2 separate regions of the Homo sapiens genome follow, and region 1 is linked to region 2. The links are contacts of gene promoters, found by promoter capture Hi-C in blood cells and fetal thymus (Javierre and others, 2016). All regions are on one chromosome and are shown on one strand. The core of a region is centred on a gene start or on the middle of the fragment in contact, and the rest is flanking DNA. Distances in the headings are between cores, read along the strand shown. Region 1 has its middle 5.4 kb from the start of S100A11. Region 2 holds the start of BCL9 (BCL9 transcription coactivator).

The links. The method cuts DNA at HindIII sites, captures the fragments that hold promoters and counts their contacts. A CHiCAGO score of 5 or more calls a contact.
Region 1: a contact is called between a fragment that was not itself captured here and the fragment with the promoter of BCL9 in region 2, in 1 of 17 cell types (fetal thymus). The highest score is 5.2, in fetal thymus.

The regions. Positions count from the first base shown.
Region 1 is chr1:152,039,267-152,045,478 of GRCh38, forward strand. No RefSeq gene overlaps it. Among named protein-coding and RNA genes, the nearest start is that of S100A11, 5.4 kb to the left of the region's middle. The HindIII fragment of the contact is 6,236 bases long and covers 317-6,212 here.
Region 2 is chr1:147,539,378-147,546,113 of GRCh38, forward strand. BCL9 (BCL9 transcription coactivator) reads left to right here and starts at 2,124. Exons shown (of 10, transcript NM_004326.4): 1 at 2,124-2,297. RefSeq lists enhancers at 1,782-2,076, 1,795-2,549, 2,110-2,169, 5,713-6,231. The HindIII fragment of the contact is 5,169 bases long and covers 2,033-6,736 here.

The DNA.
Region 1 (6,212 bases), core at 2,185-4,684, 4.5 Mb after region 2:
GTTTCACCATGTTGGTTATGCTGGTCTGGAACTCCTGACCTCGTGATCTGCCCTCCTCAGCCTCCCAAAGTGCTGGGATTACAGGTGAGAGCCACTGCGCCCGGCCACTATAGTTCTTTTTAAGAGAAAATGCCTCACTTAGAACCTGTGCTCAAGGGGCAGCCCAGGTGGCCAAGTTTTGCATGATTTGACACACTGTGACCCTGTTAGAGTGGACTGGGTTGAAGTTAGTCTGGACACCAGCACTGCCAATCTATAGGATGGCTGGTAGTGGATGTTTCATGACATAACATGGAAAGATGAACTAGGGCCAAAAAGCTTCTTGTTTTTGGGAAACTGAAATTAGAAGCACATAGAAAATTAGGCATTTAGAAGAGCTGAAGCTGAACATTTGCATAGACAGAACCATGAAGTCATGGCAAATAAAACTTATGGAGAAGACATCATGAGTAAGTGGAAGCTATGAAATTTGGAAGAAATAGACAGAGGGGAATGTAAGCCAATTGCTAACTGTAAATTAAAGAAAAGGCTACTTGGGTGTTCGCTGAATTGTGAAAATGGTGAACCACTGGGAGTGAAGAGCCTGCAGTCTGACTTCATTAGCGTTTTTGTTCTTCCTAAACCTAGTTGTTAGTTTTTCTTACTTTCTCTATGACATTTATTCTTTCAATAACTCTTCAGCCCCATGAAGTAGCTTGAATGAAACCAAAGGAAAAAGCTAAACCAAATAAGTATGACTTGTTCAGAGCCAGGTTGGGGGATCAGCCCCACCCAGTTAGGGCTGCCTGCTTGACAGCTGCTCCCCAGGGTCACGCTGAAAGGGGTTCATTTCTAGGTTATCAGTCAAAGGAGGGAGAGTTCAGGAAAGGTAGCAGGCAAGGTAGATTTGTCAAAGCAGGCAAACAATGAATCAAACTGAAGGGCTGGAGCCAGCAAGGAGCTGAGGATGAGTGAGAGCTGGTAAACTGACAGCAAGAGACAAAAATAATATACAGATGGGTAAAAGGGCTTATCAGGAAATAAATGTAGGAACTTCCATGGCTCAAGGTAATTCTTATGTGCAGTCTGATCTCTGTGTAGCATTGGGTTGATTCTGAAATGGACACAGTACAGTGACAAATGCAATAACAGGGGTGTGACCAAGACACAATGACAAATGCCAGGAAAGAAATGAGAGGTTAACTCTGGGAGAGGAGGGAAAGTATCCTGGAAAAGTGCTGCTTGAGGTGGGTATTGAAATATAAATAAGAATTCACCAGGTGGATGAACATGGTAGTGAAAAAAGGTGAACTCAGGCAAGATAGCACAGTATTTACAGCCACAGGCTCTGCCACAAGACTGGGGTTCAAATCCCAGTGTCACAACGTATTAGCTATATGAAATCTAGCAAGTTATTTGTTGGCTCTGTGTCTCAGTTTCCTCATCTGTAAAGTGGAGAGAATAGTAGTTGTTGTGAGGATTAAGAGTTAATTCATGTTTAATGCTTAGGACTTACAGCAGTGTCTTCAGAGGAAGTTTTACATAGTGGCTTGTGCAGAATTAAGGTTCGGGATGAAACATTGTTCGTGTTCTCAGTACTTGCAGGTGGTTCAGTAGAACCAGACTTAGGGTATGGGGTGATGGTAAATGTGAGGCAGAAGCTGTGGGATGTGAGATGGGAGAGACAAGGGTCAGCTCATTAGGAGATATACTTGGAAGTTTGGATTGTAACCTTAGGGTTATGTATCAAGGAACATTGAAGATTTTTAAGCAGGACAGTGACGTGATCCCCTTCACTTTTGGAACTGTAGAAAACATGTTCTAGAAAGAAGAAAGACTAGAGGCAAAGAATATTAGAATATTGTTGCAATAACCAGGGTGAGATGGCCATGGAGATGGGGAGAGGGAATTACCAAATACTGAGAAGGCAAAACCAACCTAACTTCACCACTGTTCAGCTGTGGAGCATTAGAGGAAGGAGGCATCAAGCGTGAATCCTAGGACTCTAGCTTGATAGCCCTGTGGTACCAGTACCATCCCCAAGATAGAGAACATAAACTGAATAACATTTTCGGGGGCTTAAGGGAAGATGATGGTTCGATTCGATATTGATCAAATTGAGTCTGAGGTAAGTGGGACAATTTGATGCTGGAGGAATTAAGCATGTCCAGTATCTATCTTATGTTCTCTCATAGCTCCTTGTATCATAATCCCATCATACTCTACTGTCATTTTATGTTTACTTAATCATCTTCCTCACTGGATTCCAAGATGCTTGAGGGCAGAGATGGTGCACTGTTCACTCCAGTATTTCCAACATTCACTCATTCATTCAGCAGATATATAAGAAGAATCTTCATGTGTGCAGAGCTATCTAAGCATGGAGGCTGTAGTGGTTAACAAGACAGATGAAGTCTCTGTTCAGATGCTGCTCGACCAGCTCAACTTAGGTGAATAAACAATATTTATAGAGCAAGTGGAGGAAGATGATCCAACATAGAAGAAAGAAGAGAGATGATCAGGGAAGCAGGAGGAGGCTTCTCTGGTGTCATCAAAGCTCATGAAGAGAGACTTCCAAGATACAGGGAGTGGTCAACAAGGTGAAAGACTTCAGCGAGGCAGAGTATGGTGGAGGCTGAGATGTGTCCACCTGATTGGCAATCATATCCTTGGATACCTTTGCCAGAGCAGTTTTAGTGTGGTGGTAGGAAGAAACACAGATGGCAGTGGACTGAGGAAGAGAGATGAAGAGTAGAGATGGGGTTATGGATTACTCATTTGATCAAATTGAATATGAAGAAAAGGAGAAAGTGGCAGCCAGAGGGGATCTAGGATTAAGGGTATATTTAAAAATATACAGTTTTACAAGCTGTGGAGAAGGAGTTATCAGAATGAGAAGTCAAAGATTCCAGGTTGAAAGAATGTGAACAATGAAACAAGACCCCAGAGGAGCCGTGGGTGACTGGAATTACTTCAGAGAGGTGGAGAAGGAGAAGAGTGGGAGGGAGGCTGTAGATAGCTTGTAGGTTTGGGCTGTACAGGGTTATCCTTTCCCATGGCCTTTTTGATGCTATGAGGCAGGAAGTAAGGCATCTGTGAGCATAGGCATTGGGTAGGGGGCACAGAGGGCATAGGCATTGGGTAGGGGACTTGAGGAGGTCCTGTGGTCTCAGAGGAAATGGAAAGAGGAGCTGAACCAGAATGGCTGAGTGGTGTGAAAGTTTAGGGACCTATCATTTTGTGGTGACTTCAATCCACATGGTTGTGTGATTGTGTGGCTGTATGGCTTCTTCCAGGTGTGCTTCGAAGTTTAGTCATCAGATCCAAGAGAACGGGCTGTGGAATGAATTTAGGGTTAGGTGTGTGTGTATGGGTGTAAACAAAGGATAAAGGGGTGAAGGAGTTGAGGGCATGGGTGAGAAAGGAATTCACTTGATTGGCACTGCATGCTGGACAAAGAAGGAAGGAGCAAGGACACAGAAGGTGGATGGTGGGAAGGCTCCACAAAATCAAGGAGCAAGGTAAGTGGAAAAGAGGGATGGAGAGAGCTGGCATGTAAGAAGTTATTGGTATAGTCTAATTTTTCAGTGAGTTTAACATGTTGTAGGCAGAGCCTTTATAAATGATGACAAAATCTAAGCATGATGAGTGCTAAACTGATTCCAGTTTAAGTGGAGTGGACATGAAGGAGGTTAACAAGCTGTGAGGGGCTGGGTGCGCTGGCTCATGCCTGTAATCCCTGCACTTTGGGAGGCCGAGGTGGACAGATCGCTTGAGCCCAGTAGTTCAAGACCAGTCTGGGCAACGTGGCGAGACCTCTTCTCTACAAAAATTAAAAAAATTAGTCAGATGTGGTGGAGTGTGCCTGCAGTCCCAGCTCCTCAGGAGGCTGAGGTGGGAGGATTACTTGAGCAGTGGAGGTCGAGGCTGCAGAGAGCTTTGATTGTGCCACTGTACCCGGGCAACAGAGGGAAACCCTGTCTGGAAAAACAAAACAAAATAAAAACTTATGACTTAATATTAAATAACTTGTTGCTTCAAGAATTGTTTGGCTCTTTGTATTGTTTTTCTTTTTCTGGACAGAGGGGGAATCTCAAGATATTTCCAAGGGTATTATATGCATATTCACTTATATATTCATTTTTTTTTTGAGACGGAGTCTCGCTCTGTTGCCCAGGCTGGAGTATATATTCATTTTTATTCAACAAGTATTTGTTAAGTACCACATCCTGGTCTGAAGATATGAAGATTTCAAAAAGTCATGATTCTTGCCTTTAAGGATTCCCAGATCTAATTTGATGAACAAAACAGGGATGGGATGGGATCCTTCCAGAAACTGCTTGAGCCCTCTGCACCAGGAGGTGTGCACCTGGTCTCTAGGGTGAGCCTATTTCTATTTAGGTCCTGGGATAGAAGGTTTACCCCTTGGAGAACGGTAAGGGGAGATACTTAGGTTTCTCTTACAACCTACAGCTGCTGCCTGGAGCACTGAGGCCACATTTGTAAGATTAAGAAATAACCCCAGAGTCCCTGAGGCCACACTAGCGTAAATGGAAATGCTGGACAAGGAATCTAAAGGCCTGAGTTTGAGTTCCAGTTTTCTCCCCTAGTAGATAAGCTGTTTTCTAATGGCCTCAGTTTTCTCAGGTGTAAGACGGGGAGAATTAAGGAAATAATGAATATAAAAGGGCTCTTTCAATGGTATAGTGTTATACAAATGTTAATTACTACTCGCAGTATTGCCGTGTGGATTAAAAGAAAGGGTGCCTTGTAAATTGCACTTTGCAAATGTGGAGGGTCATTATTGTTATCCCTTCAAGCGCCTCTCACTTCCTGTTGCCTCTGCTCTAATTCCTGGCCCTCAGCTCTCTCAGGTGTTCTGTGGGATGGCATCTTGGAGCAGCCGAGTCCCTGTGATTGCTGATGGGAGTTAACTGTTTGCTTTCTGCCATTGTCAGCACACATTTACATTTCTCTTCATTTTCTTCTAGACATCTTTCATGCTGATGGTTGGAAGTCATTAAAGTATTCCCTTATAGTTTTTTTAGGTCTTCACTGTAGTTAGGGAGACCTGAGAAATTTTCTCTTTCACAATGACCCACAGCAAATTGTCACATATATGCTAAATTTCTACTCTGAGGAAGCCACACCATGTCAGATCCATGTTCAATCCATTGTGATCTGAATGTGTCATCAAAATATTCTCAGTGGATCTGTATTGCTTAATTTTTTTGTCCAAATTCTTCATCTTGGAATTCAAACTCCTTCGTGGCCTAATTCCAGCTATTTTTTCATTATTTCCTTTCATTCACTGTGAACTCTAGTGAAGTGGAACTTTTCACTGTTTCCTGTAGGCAGGGTTGATTTTTTTAGCCGGTTCTCACTAGTAAGAACTGGTGCCACACGCTGGTTGTTAAAATATTGAAATTCTTCTCTATCACTTGCTAAATAGCCTCTTGCTTAAACCCCTGAGTGCCACCCACCTGAAGCTCCAGCCACTCCAGTCCCTCTCCTGGTCCACCCAATTCCCATAACCAGGTAACATAAGGGTTAATGCATGGCTTGACAGAGGGTCTCTAGGACTTTCTTCAGCCTTGCAGACTGGTAACTGTTCTAATTGGCCAGTGCTGGGTCACATTTTGAATATCTTCCAGCCTTTAGGAATCTCACAGTTTCCCATATATTGGTTTTTGTTCTTGTGATTCCTTCCTTCCATCTGGAATGTTCTCCCCATCTTCTTATATCCAAATTCTAGCTCTATGAAGACTCAACTCAAAAAGCATCTTCTCGTGGGGCTTTCAGTCATCTCTTCCAACTAAAAACATCTGTCTCTTCATTGATATCCTTCATTGATACATAGCACTGTATCTGTACTTTTCTTTTGATGTGTAATACAGTGAATCTTGAATTATAGCCTTTTTTTTTTTTTCTGTTAGGCTGTCAGCTCATTAACGACAGGCTCCAGCATCTCCATCCTACCTTTTGTTAGTGGCACCACCCACCTTCTAGAGGGCATTTAACGACCTTCTTCTTATTCATACTTTGGGTGTAGGGCAAGGACATGATGGGTTAGTACCAGGCATGAGGACTTTCATGTGACAAATGAAGAATTCAAAGGTTCTTGTGGTCTTTTTAGATGGTTTATCATTTTTGTGCGATAAGACTTCCTCTAGTTTCACCTTTCCCTGGCTCCCATACCTCACCTCCTGCTCTTGGAAGGCCTGAGGATGGGC
Region 2 (6,736 bases), core at 874-3,373:
GTGAGAAGGCATAATATGGCGGGTAAACGCTGGGGCTTTAGAATCACACAGGCCTCAGTTGGATTTCAGCTCTACCTCTGCCTTGCTGTGTGACCTCAGACAAGTTGCTTAACCTCTCTGTGCCTCGTTTTTCTATCATCTGTAAATGGAAATGATCATAACAAAAATTACTTCATGATACAAATGAGTGGGAAAATGCTAAGAATCAAGTAAATACTTAAAAAAAGGTTATTATTATTATTATTATATTACCACATCATCATCATTAATGGGAGTCGGGACAGACAGTTCAGGGATCAGGGATAATGGAGGAGCAAATTAAGGGGGAAAATAACAGGAACAAGTCTGTGTCTTTGATGTGGTGAGTTTTAGGTAGTGACACCTCATTTAGCTGGTGTTAAGTATGAAAGAAGTCATAATTTATTCTTTACTGCATACCTATGAAGGAATGAGTGATGTGTGTTCTCATAATTTCCATTTTGTAAAGGAAGATTCTGAGGAATAGAGTCTAAACAATCTTCATGAAAAAGTACAGAACTGATTCAGCAGCAGTTAGGAGCTAAGCTTCCATTCAGATCCTGTTGCATAGGGATAACTCTTCTGGCCTAGGCAGAGGAGACCTTGTTAGGTCTGTGAGTCCACAGTATCTAAAAATATGAATGTCATATAATCATCCTGTCATTCTTCTTCCTGATCTCAATTGGCCCTCCTGATTTCATGCCATCTGCAAATTTGCACATCCTTTGTGCTCCTTTTTGCTCACATTTTATGCCTTCTTTTACCATCTCATTTACTCTGCATGTTTCAATCTTTCTGGGCTTCCATTTTTCTTCTTTTTTTAATGCAGTGTTGTTTCTCTCTCTCTCTCTCTCTCTCTCTCTCTCTCTCCACTCCTTTACAGCCCCCACCTCCTCCCTCCACACCAATCAAATTCCTGCTTGTTTCTTGCCATATTCATTATCCTACCTCATTCCCCTCTTATTCCTAGAAAACAGCACACTCACCCTCCCCTCCTCCAACTCTCAGGCCCACCCTCCATAAATTCCAGCAGCCTGGCAATCAGTAACTTTAGCATCACACTTCACAGCTCTCCTAGTTTACACTACTTGTTACTACTCTCCTTGCTACTGCTCTCTAGGGTTTCTGCTAAAATAAAAAATAAAAAAAAATAAAAAAAGCTTCACTTTAAAAATATCTTGGGTACAAGTTGAACCTACAGTTAAGTTTACTCACACATTTACACATTTCATGATTTTATTTTAACTAGTAGCTCAAGTCCATGCTCAATTATGCAGTGAAAGAAGGCTAGATCCTTAGGAAACAAATTTTTCTCTATTGTAAAGAAGAAAAATCACCTAACCACTCAACAGAAACCCCAGTCCTGGGGCCACTCACCCTCTTATCTCCCTACTCCCCCAATCTCCAGCTAATGGGACTTTGCTTTTTCCTTTGTCGGGTCATTTATTTCACTTTTCCTGGCGCTGAGATGGCCTGAGTCTGTGTATGTGTGCACACGTGTGTGGCCACTGCTTTTCTTCCAAAGGACTCACCTCTCTTCTGCCATTTTACTAGGACACAGGAGGCGGCTCTCTGCTCTCGCTCTCCCTCTCTTTTTCTCCCTGCCCCCAACTCAGCCTGGGCTTTTTCCTGTCTCTTAACTCCACCAGTGCAGCAGCAACTAGCTGAGCTGCTTGAGAGAGAGAGAGAAGAGAGAGAGAGAGAAGAGAGAGAGAGAGAGAGAGGAGAGAGAGAGAGAGAGAGAGAGAGAGAGAGAGAGAGAGAGAGAGAGAGAGAGAGAGAGTGTGTGTGTGTGTGTGTGTGTGTGTGTGTGTGTGTGTGTGTGTGCCTGCGTGCGCAGCTAGGCCAAGCCTGCGAGCCTGCCTGTCACTGGAGAGTTTTAGTTTGCATTCAGAAGAAAGGAGGAGGGGAGACAAGAGGGGAGGAGGAAAAGGTGGAGGGGGGAGGAGTGGGGGGGCGCAGAGAAGGGAGGGAGAATGTCTTGTTTGTGGCTTGTCAGCAATTGCTTGAGACAAGCTTCCATGTGTGAAAGCTACTTGGCATGAATGCCTGGGCCGTACCAAGTGTCACCGCAGCAAGAGGGGGAGTCAGAAGAAAAACAGATCAGACCAGAGCAGACAATAGGCCCCTAAAGTGTTCCCCCTAAGTTGCTTTGATGTTGTCCTGGTGTCTTGATACCAGGAGGCCAGGGATTGCGGGAAAAGGGTCTTTTTTGTCTTCATTCACTTTCCCCCCTCAGTTTCTGAAATGATTCTCCAGAATTTCTCCTCATAAAAAAGGTAAGAGCCCTAACAATTCCTTCTTCGGTGGCAGGCTTGTTCGCCTGTGCCTGGAAGTGGGGGTCTCATTCCTGCGCTGCTCTGGAGGAGCGCTGGGGTCCTGCGATTGGAGCTCCTGCGTTGCCCCTGGAAGTCTTTCAAGGCATCCAGGACTGGGGATGGCCCCTCTTTCGAGGGAACCCCAGTAACACGATCTGTGCCTCTGGGTTGGTGGGGGAGAAGGGGTGGATGGAGAGGGCTGGGAGGAGGGTGTGAGGGTGGGAGGGAAAAGAGAGAGAGAGAGGGAGCGCGAGAGAGGGAAGCCTGGAAAAGAGGGAGAGAAGGGCAGAGCCTTGGTTCAGGGAAACCCCAGCCCAGAGCCCAGGGAGGCCTTGCAGGCTCCGAGCTGTGCATTCTCAGGCTGAGCAAGGGCCGGCCAGGGCTCCGCCGAGTGACTGCAGAGATTGCATCGAGCTTTGTGTGTGCCAGTGTGCCCGTGGGTCTGTGTGTGCGTGTGGACTTCCCACACACTGCCCTGGCGTGCCTCGCTGTGAAGGGGAGGCACCCCGATCCTTACCACCCCAGCCCAGACTCTCCGAGGAGGAGCGGCATGGCAGGCAAGAAGGGAGAGCAAGAGAACTCTGCCACAAGACGATCCAGAAACTTTTCCAGTCTCAGGGATTCCTCTGGTCGTAGAGACTGTTGAGTTGTGGGGTGCCCCGTGCCTCAATTTCCCCATCTGTAAAATCAAGGTTGCTGATCAGGGATGCTGTATGCCTCCCTGGGATTGAGCGAAACAGAACAGATCACTGTGTCTGAAACGCGTGGAGAAATCGTCAGCTAGAGATGCTGTGGAATCACAGAGTAGAAGTGTTATCATTATTCTTGATCATCATCATCAGGGTAATAAAAACATCATTAAAGACACCCTGAGACAAATAGACTGAGGAGCACAGATCAAGTGTCTGAGCATTTCTAAGGAAACAAAAAGCCTTGTTCCACCTGTTGGCTTCTGTCCTTTTTCTCTTGTGTCTTTTCGTTAGATTTATTGGCCGATTTGTACAGAGAATGGGGTGGGAGGGGTTGGGTTTTCCCCTTTCCTCCTCCTTGTACGTATTTTTGTTTTAAAGAAGGTCAATGTAAGATGCTTGAGCGAGAAAATGTGCCTCCTGGTATAGTAGTTTATTCAAGACCTTGTGTTTTCTGGGGCTGGCAGGGCATGCAGACGCATCTGTAAACTCTACCTTGGAGGTTAAAGATTTTTATTGTGGCTTTTAGAGATTAAATGAGATTTATTTACAATTGCTGTTTATCAGAGAGTAAATATCTTACTGTGTGTGTACGAGGCTAAGAATGTGAAGGCTGTTTACTCGCCGGTGGTTTTGTGGATAAAACCTTTTGCTTTTTCAAGTGACATCTTGAGGGATGGAACAGAGGGCTAAAATCAGTGCCTAACATTCATCTTAACAATTTTTTTTGAGGAAAAAAAATGTCTGCTTATTTTCTTGAATTGTGGATTTCCTTTCTTCTGTTCCTACACATTGATTGTTTAAAGGCTCTCAGTTGTAGCTCTCTCTGAATTCTCTGGAGGAGTTCTGCTTTCTTACCTAATTCTAGGTTTTCTGTGACTCTGCTACTTGTCCAAAAAAATCTGTAAAAGTCTAGGAGGCTGTGCCTCCTTCCATTCTAACTGCAAATGTTTATCAGACTGACTCCCTGTGATAGCTGGAGATTGAAGCAAAGGGCCAGCCCTGGCTGAGAATATTTATGTGCTTTTCACAGAGGCCTGGAAACCTGACTTCTGAGTATGGGAAAAGCTGAAGGAAAGCCATTAGTTGGCCTGGATCTGGCAAGAAGGTCCCCCTACATTTAAGGTTTTATTAAAATAAAGCTGTATTTTATGCATATATATATCTGAAAACTTAGTTGTTTTCTACTTTATAGTCAGAGATCTTACCATGGTTGTTCCTGACAAGATTTCAGGGTCCAGATATCTTCCTAAAATGTTAGAATTTAAGAACTGCAAGGAAAAAGAAGTGTTATTCCATCATGTTATAGATGAGGATGTTAAGGTCCAAGAGAGATAAGCACTGATCTGAGGCGGGTGCAACAAAGCTGTGGTAACATCTAGACCACACCCTGGGGTTCAGAGTACCCCAAGGGTCTTCATGCCGGGTACCCTTACCTCACACCCACATTTGATTTTACAAACTCCAGCACTTGGCCAACCAAAGAGAGGCACCTTTTGTAGTTCTGCTTGCTGTGCTGGATTACAGCAGCACACTCTGCCCTGCTCATGTCATCAAATGGTACAAATATGCAAACATGGGTCCACAACATGAATTTGCATAAATTCATTCATGTATTCATTTGTTCATTCAACTTATATTTTGGGGCTCTTTACTCTGCAGCAGGCAAATACTGGGCACTGAGGATATAGGAAGAGAAAGGCAGATATACCCCTGCCCTCAGGGAACTTACAGTCTTGTTGGTATGATCAACATTAACCACATGGTCACACAAACCAGTAATCATAATATTGATGATACTTGTTGAATAGCATGCAAGTATTATGACGGAGTGCATAGAGTTGCATAAGTTATTGACTCAAAGTGTGTAACTAGACATAAGCTAACTGTTCTCTTTCTCTGTGTGGCTGAGTTCCCCTTGCCCCAGCCAACCTCCATTCCACTGGTGCCATTCCTATTCACAGGGAGCCCAGCAATTCCAAAGAGCAGAAAATTCTCCTTCCCTCTCTCACCATCCTTCACTCTCTCTCTTTTTCTTAGCACACAGACCAACAAATAATATCTGCTAATCCCCTACACTTGTGCCATGAAGTAACTTCACTCTTGTAGTGAGCAGCCTAACATTGTTACCTGGATAATTCATGTTGACCGTGGTTAGTGAGACTCTGATCTCGTTTTACTGATTCCATCGTTCTTCCAGGGCTGGTACTAAACACTCAGCTGCAAGAGACTCCACCATTATCACTGTCATCTTGGAATTCCAAAGACAATATAATAAAATGACCTTTCCTACCCCTCCCAGCAAGGACACATATCCTACCCCTCCCAGTGAGGACTCATAAAGGGAAAAAAAAATTAAATACCTTTTTAGCAGATCTCTGGTTGTGCTATTAAAATCTGACTGGTTTAGTGATATCAAAGATAGAATGTTTTTTCTCTCTCTCTCTCTCTTCCTCCTATTTGTGGCCTTTCTTGGAAAGAATATAGTGTCTGGTTGAAATGCCAGTCATTTCCACGGAGGCAGATTTGTGTTAATGTTGGCATCACCATTTTCTACATCGTGTCTTTCTCTAGTACTCAGTGGAGTGTTGTCTTCAGTGTTGTCAATCCATCTTTTTTTTTAAGATTAATTTAATAGTTTTTTTAGAAGACAGACATGCCCACCCACACATAAATCATAGGTTCGATGCCTATACTTTGGGAACCCACACATAATGTGTGGTTAAGTCGTGTCATGAGAAAAATAAGAGTCATTTCTACATACCCAGCATTGTTACACAGGGATGTGCCCAGCCCACATTGTAGCAACAACCTAAACCGGAGCTTGCCAGCTTGCTGTGGTCTGCATTTGGCACCTGTGGCCAACGCCTCCTCCTCTGAGCGGTATGCACTTCATTTGCAAGTCTTTGATCACTTCCGACATACTCTCCCCCACCCCAAGTGTGTTACTCACCGGGGAGCTGCCTCTTGGGGAGGCAGTCTGAGTTGGCATTGGAAGAGTAATCTAAGAAGAGGAGTAATCCAAGTGGGGAGTTGAGGAGTGAGTAAAACGAGGATCTGGTCAGAGGAAAGATTTAACAGAACTGGAGAGCCAGACAGCAGTGATAACAGGTCATCTTTAACTCTGGGGGAAGAAAACTGAAGACTGTTATGACATTTTAAAGGTGCAATGTGTAGGTACTCTGCATAAATAAAAATTCTAGAGTCTCTAGTCCTGCTGAAAGTAAAACCAACACAACATGCAGGACATTCCCAAAACTCACTAGTTACAAATACGGCTTTTGCATATAGCTTTACTGAAGGGGATTTTGTAGTTTTTCTACTCCCAAGAGACATAAATATAAGATGTACAATGGAAATTTTCTCCATTCCTTTTAAACCTTGACATTTTAATGCACTTTAAAATATCTGCTTAGTCCTCTATTATAACAGCTCTGTGAATTAAACAGTATTGTTATCCTTCTGTTATATTTGAGTAAGGTTATGTGACTCACCCAAGGACTCACAAGAAAATGAGGGGTGAAACTGCTAGCTAATTAAATCTCCTTGTTAGGCCATCTCTGCAAGAGATGAGAAGCAGAGAACAGAGGCAATCACCACAACATTCAGATTAAAGGTAACGTGTTGACTTGGCATTAAAATAATTGCCTTGGGCCAGGCACGGTGGCTTAATCCTGTAATCCCAGCACTTTGGGAGGCCGAGGCGGGCGG